2 separate regions of the Homo sapiens genome follow, and region 2 is linked to region 1. Evidence: promoter capture Hi-C in 16 types of primary human blood cells and fetal thymus (Javierre and others, 2016). All regions are on one chromosome and are shown on one strand. Each heading gives the region's core, a stretch centred on a gene start or on the middle of the fragment in contact. The rest is flanking DNA. Distances are from core to core; before and after follow the strand shown.

What was found. Contacts are between HindIII fragments. The CHiCAGO score rates a contact against its expected background, and 5 or more counts as called.
Region 2: a contact is called between the fragment with the promoter of TEX26-AS2 here and the fragment with the promoter of TEX26-AS1 in region 1, in 17 of 17 cell types (total CD4 T cells, activated CD4 T cells, neutrophils and 14 more). The highest score is 35.3, in total CD4 T cells.

Annotation. Positions count from the first base shown.
Region 1 is chr13:30,930,358-30,935,273 of GRCh38, forward strand. It overlaps TEX26-AS1 (TEX26 antisense RNA 1), which reads right to left and starts at 2,251. Exons shown (of 4, transcript NR_038287.1): 1 at 889-2,251; 2 at 444-517. TEX26 (testis expressed 26) reads left to right here and starts at 2,299. Exons shown (of 7, transcript NM_152325.3): 1 at 2,299-2,419. The coding sequence starts at 2,359. The HindIII fragment of the contact is 4,425 bases long and covers 1,471-4,916 here.
Region 2 is chr13:30,975,628-30,980,543 of GRCh38, forward strand. TEX26-AS2 (TEX26 antisense RNA 2) reads right to left here and starts at 2,013. Exons shown (of 3, transcript XR_941820.3): 1 at 1,933-2,013. The HindIII fragment of the contact is 6,328 bases long and covers 1-2,464 here.

The DNA of each region.
Region 1 (4,916 bases), core at 1,001-3,500:
CTCCAAGCATCCTTGAGGACCCAGCTCAGGCACCTCCTTTTCTAGGAAGTTGTTCACTATAATAATCAGGGTGTTGCCCCGATGCCATCATACAGCTCATATTCAGTGCACAGTCAGTATTTGTTGAGGGAGAGAAGAAAGCAGGGGGGAAATACTCTACTTAATCATTTAGAAGGGTTGCCTCAGGCAACCAGAATTCAAAGGCAGGAATAGTGCTATACCGCTAGCCATAAAATGGACCCACGCAAAAATACACTTTGAAGTAGAAAGACTATAAAAGGAATGAAGATCAGAATAGCAACAAGAGCAATATCTTAGATTTGTGTGATTTTACAATTTATAAATTATTGTTAGAACTCATCATGTTTACAGCACAGTGAGGTGGGTGCTGGTATTCTCATTTACAGATAAGGAGACCAGGGATCAGGGAAGGATTTGCTTACCCCTAAGGGCCTGCAGTGACAGAAAGATCCTTTGGCTCTCTATTTGGTTCCTACCGCACCATTTCACAGCTTGCCTAAAATGAGACAAATTGTAAGATATTAATAAGAATTCACTTTCAAAATTCTATATACTTGCTGCTCTATTTTAAACATATATTTCTCTTAAATTATGCTATGCTAATTAGCTCTACCATTTCCAGACAGTAATCTGTTATTGGGTGCTACTTTTTAAATTTAGATGCCACTACTAAATCCTAATTTAGACTCATTCCTTTTAATAACATCTATGCCTTCTAATGTGTTCCACCCTCCATTGCTTCAAAACATGAGAGTTTATAATGTGTTATATTCATTCCATTATATGGATAGAACTCTACCTTCAGGAAATTCTAGTTTAGCTCTTCATTTTAAAGACATTCCTTGCACATATATTTGGGATCCTTACCTTGATGCTTTTTCTGTCTCCTTTGATAAATTCCTCCTTTGTCACACTGCACTGTTTCTCTGAGGTCTTGTATTAGAATAGCCCCTTAAGAATAAGGAACTGTTGTAAATTGCTTTGTAAACAGGTTGCCAGCCAACTCCAAAATGTATTTCCTGTCTTCTCTTTTCACCCAAGTGGGTAATAACTGTGTTGTAACCTGGAGACAGTCAGTAGTTACTAACCACCTAGTATGTCAAATTACCAGGTAAGGTTATCCAGCAAAAGGGGCTCACTGCACTAGAAGCCAACACTATGACACCAAGTTTTTGAGAAAAGGAAAGCTTCACATTGCAAGTTAACTTCTGAGGAAACAAAAGTCCAGTTCAAATCTGTCTTGTACTGGCTTTAGGGCAGTAATTTTATTACAAAAGGTTTAGGGTTGGATCCTGGGGTTAGCAGGTGATTGGTGGAAGCAAAGGGAACATCTGGGAAGTCTTCAGGCATGCATGGCTCTCTCTTCATGCTTCCTGGTGGGTCCCATGTGCAAATTTGGAGGGAGTTGGTATGAAACATGCAGTAGAAATTCAGGCTGTGACATCAGCAAGCTTGCTGTGCGCAAACTGCATTTGGCCATATTGATTCCGGCTGATTTCAGTCAGTTTTGTTATAAGCAGAGGGAGTTTCAGCAAATTGTTTCTTTTCTTATCTGCCCCTGAAAACAAGAATTTCTGTTAGTTATTGGTGTCTTTGACTCTTTGAAACAGTTTCAGTAGTTCCCAAGATATGAAGATAAAAGACCCCCTTCATCAGTGAAAACTCTTACAAGGGGATGAAAGACACAGCTTCCTCTATGAGAGCACAAGAACAATTAAATTGACCCTCACAAACACTATGGTTGGTGCCAGGAACGTGGCCTGGTGAGGAGGACAGTGTCACATCCTCCCTGCCCACTCCTGTTTCCACGCGTGCATTTCCTCTTCTGCCCCTCTCCTAAGCCAGGATGACCCTTCTGACCGCGTGGAACTATCACAGAAACTGCTTCCATTTATACCAGATGACTTGGGATTCAGTCTTCTTGCTTGGTTTTTATTGACTGCAAAAATCCATGACAACTTTGCGCACATTTGCTTAAGCTGAAAGCAAATGGATGAAAGTTTGTAGTTGAAAATCTACTTTCTCTTCAATCTCTTCCCTTTTTGCTTTTCTTAGGAAACATACAAGACAGTGGTCCGGAAAGCTCACTGCAAGAACTGTACAAATAATGTAAAAGTAAGGCATCCATAAGATCAAAGCCACATTTCTTTGCTCTCTGCACCCCATTCCCGCGCCGGCCAGGTTAAGCCTCCTGCGTGGCCAGCACCCCTTGGCAGGGGCAGAACTCCCTGGAACCCGATCCTTGTCTCCATGGCGACGCGTCACAAAGCAGCCCGCGGCTCCCGCAAGCGCTGAGATAGCTGGAGCCAGGGCCCCGCGGCCGCCTCCTGGGGCAGAATGGAACAGCCTGGGCCCAGGGCTCCGGATCCCTCTCTCTGCCACCACAACCTCCAGCCAAGTAAGACAGCAGACTCTGCCGGTCTGCGGGGCGGGGCTGGGGTCTTTCCCGGGGAAAGGGTCCTGTTGAGAAAAAGGGGCCTTAGTATTTAAGGGTGTGGCATCGCTCTTAGGAGTATGCTCAACTGAGGAAAAGACGGGGAGTCAGGGAGAATGACAGGGCCTTCATGACGCTGCCCCTTTTCAGTCCTTCGCATAACCTTTGCCAAATCCCCGCTCCCTAAAACGCGCAGGGTTTTTAAACACTCGAGGAAGTGCCTGGCTAAGAGGGGACAGGAAAAAAGGAAGAACTGGTGATTTTCCAAGGAAAACAGGGCCAAAGGCAAAGAAGAAAGAGAAGTCCTGGAAGCTCTGAAGAGAACAGGTCCTGCCTGAGTCCCGATCCCCATATAGGATCTTGGAAACAGCAAGGAAAGTGGGGGAAGGGTTGGCTGCTGAATGGAGTCCCAGCTGTGTCTGCAGAGGCAGACGCCCTCCCTGGGCTGTCGCACCAGGCTGGGAGCCATGGCCTTCAGCTGCCGCCTCTAACCTGAATTGATTTTTCTTCCACAGAGATTTTGTATTTCACAGAGGTAGTGCTTTTCATCCTAATTCTGCCCACAGATGCAGCAGGTTCACCAGTTCAGCCTTTTGGGTCTGTGGAGGGAGAACCACTCTAGCTGTGACGCTAGTGGCATGATTACCGTGTAGTCAGCTCCATCATAGTCTCTTGTGGCAATAATTGGCCATTGCTGCTGTATAGTTGGGTAACTGTGATTCCACAGTGGCTATGGAGCAGTGAAGGATTGTTCAAGTACAAATTCCCTAGAATTGTGCTCCCAAAAGAGTGAATGAAATGCATATTTTCATTCCAATTCATTCCGTTGTAAATTAAGAATGGAAAATGAAAATACTTAATTAGTGCAGAAAATATCTAATACACTCAGTTTCTATATGATGGGAAGGCAAACAGGAGAGACAGAGGAGGGAGGATCCCCTCCTAGCATCCCGACAGCACCCCTTTGGATGCTTCTCTTCCCTTTCTAACCACCCTGTTTTCCCACTGTCTCCCCATTTCATCCCCTTCTTGTCTGGGAACTGTTGGAGTCCCCCAGGATTGATCCTTCTAGGCTTACCTTCTCTTTGTGACCATATCCTGCACAGGGCTTCAAGTGCTGCATAAAGGTGCCAACAACTCTCTAACCTTTATCTCTGACTTGGACTTTCTTCCTACTTTTTCAGACCAGAATATCTAACTGTCTACCAGACAGTTCCATGTGGGTGTCACAGCAGGGCCTCCAACTTGACATGTGCAAAATCACACTCCTTGTCCTCCTCAAACCTTCCAGACTTTGAGAGTTCAGTTAAGAGGGTCCTAGCTGCTCAATTTAGAAGGGAAGGCAGCTTCCTTGAGACTGCAGTTTGATCACCAGGTCTCTTTGATTCTGCCTCCAAAGCTCTTTTTCCCCCAGGTGAATTCGCCCCTTTACCTCCAGGCTTGGGCCTCTAATGGCTACTCTGTGCCACTTCATTCCCCACTGCTGGGAGAGTCACCCTCCAAATGGTAGGCTTGATGTGTCCCCACTGCCCAGGTTTGGTCCGAAATAGGATGAGGTTGATGGTGACTGATGACTAACTGTTATTGAATAATTACTACAGATGGGGCTCTCAGGTGTTGTATTAGTTTCCTGTGGCTGCTATGTGTTCCCACAGACTGGTGGATTCAAACAACAAAAATGTATTTGCTCACAGCTCTGAAGGTCGAGAGCCTGAAATCAAGGTCTGGACAAGTCTGCACTCCCTCTACAGGCCCTAGGGGAGAAGTGGTCCTTACGTCTTCCAGCTTCAGGTAGCCATCGGCACTGCTAGTGATGGCAGTGGCTGCTGCCATCATGCTGGCTGCAGCAGGGAAGCACAGCTGGGGCTGCAACACTCCATGGAGCCCGTGGGAGCTGCCCCTTCTGAGTTGGGATGGGAGCTCCCTGTGCCGCTACAGCCGCCCAAACTGCAGCTACAGACCCAGGCCTCCTGCTCTATGGAGCAAGCAGGAGCCCTGCAGTCCTGGGCGAGGCTACAGCCACCCAAACTGCGGCTGTGGGTCTGAGCCTCCCTGTGCCTCTGAGCCTCCCTGTGGAACCCACGGCTGCAGACCTGGGCCTTTCACTCCATGAAGCAGGCAGGAGCCAGGGACAAGTGGGAGCTTTGCCTCTTCCAAGTTGGTGGGGCAAGAGCTCCCTGGTGCAGCTGCAGCTGCCCTCCCAGGCACAGGACCTGGGCATCTCTGCAGCCTGCACCCTTGGACTCCCCAGGAAGGACACCCTTCACCCATCCATCCCTGCAGGCTCAGGGGTATCTGATCCCACTGCCAGGCAATACCCCACCCACATCCCTGCAGGCTAAAGGGTATCTGCTCCCACTGCCTGGCCTCTCTCCACTGGCTCTGATCTCAGAGTGGGGTTGGGACCAAGCCCCAGGGCTGTGAATGGCAGCAGGAGGCAGACAGAGTCCTGGGTGGAAGG
Region 2 (4,916 bases), core at 763-3,262, 45 kb after region 1:
TTGGCTGGTTAATGCTTTTTGGCTTTAAATTGCATTTTAATTGATATTAATGTTGCTATTGGTGCTGATTTGATTTTGGTTTTACCTTTGCATTTGCTCAGTATGTCCTTGCTTTCATTTCCAATCTGTCTTTGTAACTTTGCTTCTAGAAATAAATTATGCCTATCTTTTATTTCATAACTAATGTGTCAGTCTTTGTCTTCAAAAACTTAGTACAGAGCAACTGTGATGCTTCACATACTGGGTTTTGTTTTCTATATCATTTTTTTTGCTTGCTATTTGCTGTTTGTTCTTTTTAGTTTTACTGATTTTCTTCATTTTCCCCTCTAATGTTAGTTTTGGAAATATACTGTTTTTCATCATACTAGTAGTTTTTATCACACATTGTCATTACTAGATTTGGGTTCCTCTCCCAATATATAAAAATTCCATCATCTCTGTGCTCTCAGGACCTTGTACTTCCCGGTTCTTCCCATGGCTACTGACTGAGAAGATATCCTTTATTTCCTCATTTCACACTGTGCTTTTCACTACATCCCCTGCATGTGCTCTTACGCGTGTGCATGCACACACACACACACACACATACAAACAACTGCCAGCAGGGCTCATGTGGAGAAGGAGCTTGCCCTGTAGGTTTCCCACCAGCAGCAAGAGTTTGTTGTTGTTATTGCCGCTTTGGCTTTCTTTCTTTCTTTCTTTCTTTTTTGAGCCCTTGTTTGGGCCTGTCCTATTTCCTGCTCCTGTTTTGCATCAAGGCAGTCATATCCCAACCATCCCTGCTTTAGACAGGGGTAGTTTTCTATTTATCAGCTAAGCGTCTCCCTGCCCCAACGTCCTTTGCAGATGTGGGTCAATACTTGAGCATTAATCTGCTTTTATGCCTTTCTTAGAGTGCTTAAGACTGTTGCAGTGGCCACCCAGGAGCTTTACGTGGACTCTCTCTTGGTTTAGTGTGTGCAGTGTGGGACTTCCTGACTGTCCTCACAGCATCCATTCCAAAGCAGAGGTCCATACTCCATCAGGGCCTTGAGCCAAATATTAATAAATGAGTAGCCCCTTTGGTCCACAAATATTTATTGAGCACCTCCTACGTGCCAAGCAGGGCTTTAGGGGATGGGGATAATGCACTAGTGAAAGACAGTAATGGAGCTTCGATTCTAGAGGGAGGCACCAAGAGGCTCCTATTTGAAATGAAACTTCAAGAGGAGAAGGAGCCAGCCACATGGAGAGATGGGACAAGACCTTTCCAGGCTTAGAGAACAGCAAGGCAAGGGCCTCAAGATAGGAATGATTTTGGTGTTCTAGGAACTGGAAGAAGGTGGAGTGGTTGACACATACATAGTGAGTTGGCCGGGGACAGGGAAAAGTCACGCAAAAAGAGATCAAGGAAGCAAGAGTCGGATCATGGTGTGAGTGCCATTGTATTTCTGTTAGCATAGACTCTTGTATTCTATGTAACTTTATTTCACAACAGTCAATAAATTTCTATTGATTCAAGTTGTGGATCACCCATGAATGTTGTTTTTATACTATTCGTCTTCTTCTTCTTCAAATTTTGGTAGCAAAGTTTTGTGTAGGACTTGAGTTTTTCACGACTGCAGACGTGTCTGTGCATGCATCTTAAGTTTTTAATGTATCTCTACACCTTGGGCATCCCAAATGGTATCCCTGACCTCCCAAATGATTTTTTAAAAATTCACATACATTGAGGTTCACTCTTTGTGCTATAAAGTTCTATGGGTTATGACAAAAGCATAGTGCCATGTATCCACAATTACAGTATCACACAGGATAGTTTCACTGCCCCAAAAATTCTCTATGCACCACCTGTTCAATGCTCTCCTCCTCCCCTCAAACCCTGATTACTTCTTTGGAGATCATTTTGGTATTCTGGAGGTAGGGTAGCTAAGAAAAGCCAGCATCACCTACCTTGCCCTGGGGCAGACAACATACGGATGAGTATTGCCATCTGTCTGGACACAAAAAGTCCTCTTACCTACAGGGTTCTAGAACTTGTCAGTGACATCACTCTAGAGCAAGATGTTCTACTTGTAAATACAGTATTGAGATGTCATCTTCGACAGACTTTTGCTTTAGGGACGGTGGTAAAGTGAATTATTGGCCCCAATTCTTCATCTCTCTCTGTATCCACACCCCTGGCCATGTAACCTTGCAGTGCCTCCCACTAAAGATGGAATGTATTTCCCCTGACCTTGTATGTGAGCACAGCCATGTGGCTTTCTTTGGCTAATGGGTTGTTAGAAGAAATAAACCTGGGCTGCTCACTGGTCCCAGGAGAAAAATGAGTCACCCCAGCTGACCTGCCCCAATGACTCACAAACTGTGAATGAGAAATAAATGCTCTTTGCTGCATGCCAGAGGCCAATGTAGCAATAGCTGACTGGTACAGGCACAGCATTTATTTAGATGCAACATTCCTGGGACCCTCAAAATGAGAAAAAGCTTTGTAGAATCAGTTCTTTCTCAAAAATATTAAATTCTACCACCGTCAACAAATGTGTGTTTAAAAAGCAATTGCACCCGGGAAGCGGAGCTTGCAGTGAGCCGAGATTGCGCCACTGCAGTCCGCAGTCCGGCCTGGGCGACAGAGCGAGACTCCGTCTCAAAAAAAAAAAAAAAAAAAAAAAAAAAGCAATTGCATTTTAAAGTAAGAGTGTGGTTGAGGTTCTCTTGTATCTTAAAAATGGCAAGGGTGTTTTAAACATTGAACACTTTAAAGATTCTCATGAGGCCAGTAGCCACTGCTTATTTTAATGTGCTAGAAGCTGTGAGTGCTTTAACCTGGTTCATTCTCAGAGAAGATCGGCAAACCCAGATCAGTCATGGACCTGGCATGAGTTAATTACATGGCACTAGAATCTCTATTATTATATTTGTAAGATAGTAGTTTTTCAACAGTTACTAATCCTGCCATTTTTTTTTTCTTGTGATATCCCCCGATGGCTCTTTAATTCTCTTTTTTCTTTCCTGAAAAACTTACCCTTGGTAGGCGATTTCTGGGGTGTTGATTTTTTTCTTGCCGGGAACCCCTGTGGCCACAGCACCTTTGCCCAAATTCTTGTCCTGCATCCAGGAAGAGTGAGGTACACAAGTGAAGAGTGAAGAAGAGTTTTATTTAGTGTTAGAGCAACTCAGAGGAGTGGGTAGCTCCCTTCTGCTGGCAGGTCATCTCTGAGGCTCTCAGTGGACAGGGTACTCTTCTCTGCAGCTGGTCATCCAGTCCCATCATCTCTCTGCTCTCTTTGTCTTCTGGCCATCTTCTGCCCTGCTCTGGTTGAGCCCAGGGCTTTTATGGACCTCAGAAGGAAGGAAATGTATGCCAGTTGGTCCATGGGCGGCCATGGGTGGGCCTGGACTCTTCCAGGCCCATGAGTCCCTACTCCAGTTCACGGGACTGGCAGCCCAGCCCCTAGTCTTCAGGCTCTCCCTGGCCTGAGGGTGGGCCCTTACTGGGGACCCTCTTCCTTCTACCCAGGATTCTGTCAGCCTCCCGCTGGGACTTGGCCCCCAACCCCGCTGGGAGATTGGAGCGGGCCTTGGGAGGAGAGGCCAGGCACTGGGAGCAGACACCCCTAAGCCTGCAGGGACAGGGGTCCTTCCTGGGGCACTCGAGGGTGTAGGCTACAGAGATGCCCAGGTCCTGTGCCTGGGAGGGCAGTGCAGCTGCACCCAGGAGCTCCCGCCCCACCAACTCAGAAGAGGCAGGACTCCCACTTGTCCCCAGCTTCTGCCTGCTTCCTGGAGCAGGAGGCCCAGGTCTGCAGCCGCGAATGAGGCAGCTGCAACTGCACCTCGGAAGGCAGATCCTGCCTGTTCCCGTTTCTCCCAAGAGCACAGGAAGGCTCCGATCCACAGCTGCATTTTGGGCTGCTGTAGCCTCACCCAGTAGGGGGCGCTCCTTCCTGCTCCCTAGAGCAGGAGGCCTGGGTCTGCAGCTGTGGTTTGGGTGGCTGTAGCCACATGGGGAGGTCCTGTCCCAACTCAGAATGGGCAGGGTTCCCCCTGGCTCCAGGGAGTGTACAGCCCCAGCTGCGCTTCCCTGCTGCAGCTGGCATGATGGCAGCAGCCACTGCCATCACCCTTGCACACACCTTATTCAAAATAAAAGTGTATATAGTGGATTTCTATGCTTTCTAGAAATATCTGTTCTTTGTTTTGAACCTCTTGAAGAAACAGTTATGTAAATGTGTTTAAAATTGTTCCACTTTGTTTTAAAAAGCTTTTGTGAATAAGTAGAAAACAACATCCCTTTAGAATGAAGGCTGCAATAATTTGTAAGAAAGTAAGAAATAAAACGCAGGTTATAGGAAGTTGTTTTCACTACGTGTTAGAATTCTCCTTTCTGTACAGGAGGTATATGAGTCTGGAGCAGGGCTTATCAGCCTTGGCTACCCAATCAAATGTCCTGGAGAGATTTTTAAAATCCTGATCCCGAGGCTACTTTCCAGTCCAATTACATCAGAACTTCTGGGGACGGATCACAGGTGCTAAGGTGATCCCTGTGCACAGCAAAGAGTGAGAACCACTAAACTAGAGGGGGGATCTAATTGGTAAATTGCACCTGAGAAGGTTAAGTTGGTAGTTTAGTCAAGGTCTAAGCAGGAAGCAGAATCCACCCCATTTGTTTCAGATGATGGGGCTTAAGTAAAGGGACTACTTACTGAGGACATAAACGTGGGGTAAGGCTCCCAGAGACTTGAGAGAGAAGAAAGCTGTTACCACCTCTCCCTGTGAGAGCCTGGGCTGTCAGGGAGCTGCTGTCCCCTGGAAGGGACAGAGCCATTTTGGGGGACATGACACAGGGAACAAGAAGGGAAAAATTCCTCCAGCCTTGCTTCTCCTTCCCTCTCATATAATCTGATCTCCTGGCAATGGCTCTCACTGACAAGCCC